2 separate regions of the Homo sapiens genome follow, and region 2 is linked to region 1. The links are contacts of gene promoters, found by promoter capture Hi-C in human tissues and cell types (Jung and others, 2019). All regions are on one chromosome and are shown on one strand. Each heading gives the region's core, a stretch centred on a gene start or on the middle of the fragment in contact. The rest is flanking DNA. Distances are from core to core; before and after follow the strand shown.

Region 1 (3,714 bases), core at 1-2,500:
CAGGGCTGTGAGCGCTTGCACGAAAGGAAAAACCCCAGGCCGTGTGAAGTCTAACTTTCCCCGTCCTCTCGGTCAGGCAATCCCACCGGGGCACCTGTCTAAAAACACCCCGCCTCCGAACGCGCGCTCTTGCGGAATTCTCCCGAACCGCAGAGCCCTCGTGGCTGGGACCGCATAGCAACCGGGGGCAGAGTGCGAGCCCCCAGCGGTGTGCTGGGATGGAAAAGCAGGAGCCGCTGAGGATGGACTACGGGGCGTGTTCCCGAAAAGCCGGGAAGAGATGTGGCGGGGCTGCCGCGGGCGTCTCTAAGGCCGGCACGGGTGGCGTCTTGACTCCCTGCCCCTCCAGCCGCGGACCTCGGACGGGGGGAAGGGGGCTCCTCCAAGCGGGGAGACGGTCGCCGGCCGAGCAGCAGGGCTCCTGGCCGGCGGAGGGTGCTATGCTCTGCGGGACCGCCGGGAAGTCCCAGACAAGGTCTGCGGGGGCTCTGGAGGAAAAAAAACGCGCTGTGAGGTCCAGGCGTCCGCGGGAGGGGCCGGGGGCGGGGAGGGAGCGTCCAGCGGGCACCGAGCGGTCACGCTCCGGCCACCGGGCCGAGGACGGGGCGGCGGGGCTAGGTCCCGGACCGTGAAGGGAGCGGCGGGTCGCGGCAGGTGCGGGGTCCCCAAGGCCGCCGGCCAGCTTCCGCGCACACCCCGCGGCCCGGGCCGCCGGCCCCCAACCCCTGCCCGGAACAGGAGAACGCGCCCTTCTCCACGAGGCGTTTCAACCGCTCCGCGCGAGGGGCGCGCGCCTGGGCCAGGCGTGTCCCCTACCCCAGGGGCAGCTCGGCCAGGGTGAAGAGTGAAGCCCGTGAGGGAATGGAGCATGCGCATTCGCGAGGGCGAGGCCAAGTGCTGGCAGGGAGCGTGCGCAGTGTGAAGGTACAATCGGCTACGTGGGAACCCGGGACATGCTCGGTGAGCGCCCAGGTCCCGCGCACGCGCAGAAGCGCTCGGAGCCCGCAACCCGCTGGTGGAGAAAAAAGAGGAGAGAAATCACCTCAGAGTTACGTCAGGAAAGGCCGCGTTTTGCGGGGAGGCTGTAGCCTCCCAAGGAGCCCCGCAGTTCTCCTAGAGCTAGGGGCGTGACAGTTACTCACCGGTCTTCAGTCTCGAGGCAGACGCCGGGCCCCTTTCCGCTCACACTCGGCTCGCGCGCGCCGCAGCCGCCGCTGCCGCTGTGATTCCATCCATCTTGAATTTGACGTCATCCCACACCAGGGATGAGGTCATCGCAGGCATCGCTCGTCACGTGCGCGGCACTCTGATTGGGCGCCGGGCGCCGGAGGGCGGGGCGGGGGGGGGGCCTCGCGGCGCAGGGGGACGGGGGAGGGCGGGCCTGCCCGGAGCCGCGCGCCGAACGGACGCTGCCGCGCTGCAAGCCCGCGCTCTCGGTCCATGAGGGGAGCCTGCGGCGGCCGTTAGGGGAGGCGGCCGGGCTGGGGGCCACGGCGAGGAGGCTGAGCGCCCCGGCCGGGTGGAGTCCGTCGCGGCGAGGAGCGCGCCGATTCTCAGGGGACTTTGCCGCCTGCCGGAGGCGCCCTTGCTGCGGGGTCGCCCCGGGTCATTCGGCCGCGGTCCTGCCCAGCTGGGCCGCCAGTAGTCCCCGCTTCCGGCGCGGCGGGATGCGTGGCGCGAGCGCTTAGTCCCTCGGAGGGGAGGACGCGCTCCCGTTCACCGGTGGACGGCGGGCGACTCCCCGAGCCGACGACCCCGACAGCGACGGGAGCGACGCGCGGCTTTCTGACGGGCGCGGGCGGCGAGCGGGGCCCTGCGGTCCTCGGGTCGGCGGCAGACGCTCCCGGCCCGCGAGGAAAGCCCGCGGGAGGCGGCTCCTGCCGCTCGCTAGTCGCTCAGAGCGCTTCCATTTCCTCCTCCCGACGCAACCTGGCCACCTGGCCCCTGGGCGGGGACCCGGCGGCCGCGGCCAGGGCGTCCGGGCTCGTTCGCCGCGCAGATGGGGGTCGGTCCTGACCCCCGCCGGGGCGTCCACAGCGGCCCGCAGGCAGCCGGAGACTTCGCATAGTGCCCGGCTCATCGGAGGGCTGTGATCTTTTTTTTTTTTGCAGAAATATTACAACTCCACTGATGAGAAAACTCACTTCGCTTTCAGTCAAAACCAGAAATTAGATAACAGAAATGCCACACTGTCAACACCGACCGGGAGGAAAGCCTCGCTGGCGGAGACCGCTCAAGGGAGCCCTCCGCGCGTTCTCCCAGCCCGGGTCGCAGGTGGAGGGGGAGTGCCTCCTGCAGGGACGGTTCTCCCGCAGACACTCAAACTCCGGGATGTAAAACCCCTGTTAATAATTGTCAGGGGTCTGTTAATTGCCAAATACAGTTTTTGAAAGTTGTATGCACTAGGTAAAATAATTTATGTAATGTTTGGAAGTATGTGAAAGACAGACATTAGATTGATACAAATTAAAAATTTGTTGCCAAATTAACAGCTCTGTTGTAGATTATTAGTTTGACTAATTTTAAGAGGACTCTTAGTCTTACATAAAGAATCTTGCACCTAAAAATTTTCTCCTACAACTTTAAAACACTTTAAATTTTTTTTTTTTTTTCCTGAGATGGAGTCTCTGTCAGTCCCAGGCTGGAGTGCAGTGGCATGATCTCAGCTCACTGCAGCCTCCACTCCCTGGCTCAAGCCATCCTCCCGTCTCAGCCTCGGCAGTAGCTGGGACTATAGGTGCATCCGTCACACCTAGCTGATTTTTGTATTTTTGGTAGAGATGGAGTTTCACCATGTTGCTCAGGCTGGTTTCAAACTCCTGGTCTGAAGCAATCCACCCGCCTCAGCCTCCCAATGTGCTTGGATAACAGGTGTGAGCCACCATGCCCAGCCTAAAGAGTGTCTGTATTTTGAACTGTATGGTGGAAAAGCACAAAGTGACTGTTCTGAAGGTAGAAGGCAACAGTGATTATAAGTCTTAAAAGAACCTTGAGTTTTAGGTTCCCCTGTGATTAGGCTGGGGGAGTGTGTGCTGTTATCCTAGTTTTATAGGTGAGAAAACTAGTACTGGCTTTACCGCATGCTGGAAGCAGCCTCCCTTGAGCGATCCCTTTCTAGCCACCTGCTTAGCTGTTTTTTTGTTTTGTTTTGTTTTTTGTTTTTTCAACCTTCCTCAGGACGATACACATTGGTGTCTCTGCTTTGAGCTATATGATCAGGCTTTTGGCCTCACCATTTCACTGGAATTGACCTGACTGCCAAATCTGGCAGAAACCGTTGCATCTTTCAGTTGCTCTCTTTGATTTGTGACACGCTTCCAATTGCTTCAGCAGTGATTGCTTCAGTTACGCCTCATTCCCTGGATTTCCCACCTCTTGGCTGACTGCTCCTCCTGGGCCGGCTGTGTTGGCCCTTCTGCCCCTGCCCATGCTCGCACTGGGTTTCTTGGCACACACACCCTATGCAGTCTCATCCATGCTTGGAACATATGCCCAGTTGCTGGAGCCAGGAATGTGGGCACCATGGTGGGCTCCTCCCTCACTTCCAGTATTGGGTCTATCCCCAAGTCCTGTCCGTCCGACCTCCTCAGTGTTTCTCTGGTAACGTAACCGCTTAACTGCTCTCCCAGCCTCCAGGTTTCCTCCTTTAATCCACTCTCACATTACAGCCAAAGCGATTTTTCTAAACAGCAAAAGGGATCATGCCACTCCCTT
Region 2 (3,714 bases), core at 792-3,291, 230 kb before region 1:
CTGATTGTGGGTGGAGTCTTCGTTTGCACCTCTGTACCTTCGCTCCAGTCTCTGAACGGTTGCTGTCCACAACGAATCAGACTGATTGCGGGCTCAGCCTTCGTTTGCATAGAAGTATAACTTTGTAACTTCACCCTAGCCTCTGACTGGTTGCTTTTGGCACCTTCATTTACATGAGGTGAGCATGATGTGGCCAATTGGAAACTTCTAGGGGATATTTGGACCCAAGAAGATCCTGTATCCAGGCCCTTGAGCCGCTGCTCGGGTCCGCTCCCATACTGTGGAGTGTACTTTGGTTTTCAATAAATTCCTGCTTTCGTTCTTTTGCTGCTTCATTCTTTCTTTGCTTTGTTGGGCGTTTTGTCCAATTCTTTGTTCAAAATGCCAAGAACCTGGACAAGTTGCAGTTATGACCCTCGACCGGTGATAGTAGCACTCGCTCCTAACAGCTTGGCTGCAGTAAGCCTAGGCTTCCAGGGAGAGCCTCTGCACCTGCTGCTGTGCTGCTTGAGTTCTCTCAGACAAGGAAGCATGAAAAGGGCTGCCTTTTTCAAACAGCAGGGGAAGGAAAACACAGTGATAACAAATCCAAATATTATTTCAATTGAGATCTTATCATATACATCATATACACAGCCATTTAAAAAGTGAAAACAAATATAATAAAATCAAATTATATTCAATAAAAAAAGCAAGGCGCAGGCATTTACATAATGAGACCCACTTCTCTTAATGTATTATATAGTCTGTAAAAGCAAAAGATGTGAAGCACCCCAAATCCCCATGGATGGGCGATGGTTGAATTATTATCACTCATCCATAGGAAAGACTGCCGTGCAATTGTGAAAATGGGAGGAGGACTGTGTCTACACGTGCCTCTGGAGTGATTGCACAGACCACTCTGAACAGAGCAAGGTGGAGGAAATCTTCCATTTTTCCAGTACAGGCAGGAAATAGGGACCCATCCCTCTGTCTATCTATTTACTATCTTTATTCCCATCCATCTATTATCTATCTATGTTTCTACCATTCATCATCTATGTACTACCTAACTACTTGCCTACCTGTTCTCTATCATCTATCTACCATCAATCAATCTATCTCTCCCTATCTGCTTCCATTCTAAAAATAAACAGTGTGAGCACAGTCCACAGGGAGGGGGCTGGAAGTCTCTGGGGGAAGACACAAGTCCTTGTTGCACATGCCCTGTTTTCTAGATTTGACTATGAAACCATGCAAATATTTTACATCCTTATAAAACACAATTAACTTTAAAAAGCAATGTCTAAATACCAAAAATAAAATAAGACAAATGAACCAAATGTGTATCCATTTGGTAGCCTGACTAACCAGAGGGGAGCTATTCCAATTGACTTTAAAACGTAGGAATTTAAAAGTAACTACTAGTGGAAAATGCACTAAGGGCAAAAAGAACAGAGAAAGAAAGGAAAGGAAGAAAGGAAGGAAAGGAAGAAAGAAAGAAAGGAGGGAGGGAGGGAGAGAGAGAAAGAGAGAGAAAGAGAAAGAAAGCAAGAGAGGGAGGGAGAAAGAAAGAGAGAGGAGAGGAGGAAAGAAAGAAAGGAAGGAAGGAGGGGAGGGAGGAGAGGGAGGAAAGGAAGGAAGGAAGGAAGGAAGGAAGGAAGGGAGGGAGGGAGGGAGGGAGGGAAGGAGGGAGGGAGGCATCTTAACCCCTTTCCCACAATCACACTATTGGCTGAGTGTTGATGTTATCCTGAGACTGCCCTGTGTGTGTTGAAGCATAAAGGAAATGTGATATAGAAACTCTATCATTAGCTCTATGGTAAAGAACTGAGATTTTTGGCATGAGAAAATAAAAGTTAAGAAGCTGTAATTTAAAAGAAAAATATTGGCCAGACACAGTGCCTCATGCCTGTAATCCCAGCACTCTGGAAAGTGGGAGGATCACTCAAGCCCAGGAGTTCAAGACTAACCTGGGCAACAGAGTGAGACCCCGTCTCCCCCCAAAATAAACAAAATTAGCGAACATGGTGGCATGCACTTGTGATCCTGGATATTTTGGAGGCTGAGGTGGGAGGATTGCTCGAGCCCAGGAGTTTGAGGCTGCAGTCAGCCATGATCACAACACTGCACTCCAGCCTGGGCAACAAAGTGAAACCTTGTCTCAAAAAAATAAAAAATCATAAAAGACAAGGAAAATATCAGCACGAAATAATAATTAAAATCAATAAAAATGGATAATGCAAGCATTCTATTAATTAGGCTCATTATCATAATGTAAATACATATTTGGGGAACTTGTTCCTCCAAACAGCAATGCTCTCTCTTCCTCCTCTACACTTTATGCCAACTAATTTTACATAAATGGGAAACTGTCATTTCTACCAAAGCGAGCTGCACTGTGTTTCTTGGGGTGAACCTTTAGGGAGACAGCCATTGTGAGAATGAAAGGGGAAATATATTATTGAAAGTTTACTTACAGTTTTTAAAAATGCCTATTTCCTCCCTGTTTTCTCCCACCCTCCAAGTTTATTAGTTACCTCTATCCACTAGCAATGGACAGATTTTCATGATTTAATTATTTTTACTATCAATTTTAAAAGTCAGCAAAACATATTTACTTTTTAACAATATATCATTTTAAAAGGGTACAGAGTTGCAGTTACATAGGACGACTAAGTCTAGAGGTCCAGTGCAGAGCCTGAGGACTGTACTTAACAATTCTGTGCTGTACCCCGGAAATTTACCAAGAGAGATTTCAGGTGCTGTCACCACACAAACACACAAAACGCAACCGTGGGGAGGTGGACATGTTCATATGCTTGACCGTAGTAACTTTGCTGTGAGTATCTCTATCAACACATCATGTTACACAATGTAAATATATGCCTTTTTTTTTTTTTTTTTTTTTTTTGAGATGGAGTCTTGCCCTTGTCGCCCAGGCTGGAGTGCAATGGCATGATCTCCGCTCACTGCAACCTCCGCCTCCCAGGTTCAAGCAATTCTCCTGCCTCAGCCTCCCACATAGCTGGGATTACAGGCGCCTGCCACCACGACCAGCTAATTTTTGTATTTTTAGTAGAGACAGGGTTTCACCATGTTGGCCAGGCTGGTCTCGAACTCCTGACCTGGTGATCTGCCCACCTCGGCCTCACAAAGTGCTGGGATTACAGGCGTGAGCCACCATGCCTGGCCACCATTTTTATTTTTAAAATGATAAAACAAAACACATTGCTGAACCAAGAAAAGAATTGAGATGATCGTGCAAATAATGATGCATACTATATTTGGGAAAAATAAAAGTTATGAAACAGTAGCAGGTCCAAGTTATATACGCAACTGTGTAAAATGTGTTCTTTAAAAATCAGGGTTTCTGTGCTTTCAGCAACCTACACATGTTCTGACTTGTGATCTCAAGGTCTGGGAGACATGTGTGGTGAAATCACACACACCTGCCCCAGCAGAGGGGTCACTGGACGTCTTCATGCGCTGCAGGGAACTCAGATGAAAGGGACCTTAAGTAATGTAACCTTTACGTTAGATTCAAACATGCCTTTATGACTGCTCATCTGATTTGTAATTTAAAGCTTAAGCAAAGTATGGCATTATTTAAATGCTCATTTTTAATTTGTTGAAAGAAAAGTCAATATTTATCATGAAGACTGCGGCTCAAGCCTAAGACCTATCTAGTGGGAAGCAGGACCAGAGCAAAGGTCTGACTGTACGTGAACATTT

Evidence for each region. Contacts are between HindIII fragments. The study calls those that stand out against the background at their distance.
Region 2: a contact is called between a fragment that was not itself captured here and the fragment with the promoter of ZBTB21 in region 1, in 2 of the 25 tissues and cell types used here (mesendoderm cells and thymus).

What each region holds. Positions count from the first base shown.
Region 1 is chr21:42,009,110-42,012,823 of GRCh38, forward strand. It overlaps ZBTB21 (zinc finger and BTB domain containing 21), which reads right to left and starts at 1,251. Exons shown (of 3, transcript NM_001098402.2): 1 at 1,143-1,251. It overlaps ZNF295-AS1 (ZNF295 antisense RNA 1), which reads left to right and starts at 85. Exons shown (of 2, transcript NR_119384.1): 1 at 85-475. RefSeq lists silencers at 424-533, 574-883, 1,324-2,063. The HindIII fragment of the contact is 7,901 bases long and covers 1-3,714 here.
Region 2 is chr21:41,779,375-41,783,088 of GRCh38, forward strand. No RefSeq gene overlaps it. Among named protein-coding and RNA genes, the nearest start is that of RIPK4, 14 kb to the left of the region's middle. The HindIII fragment of the contact is 9,090 bases long and covers 1-3,714 here.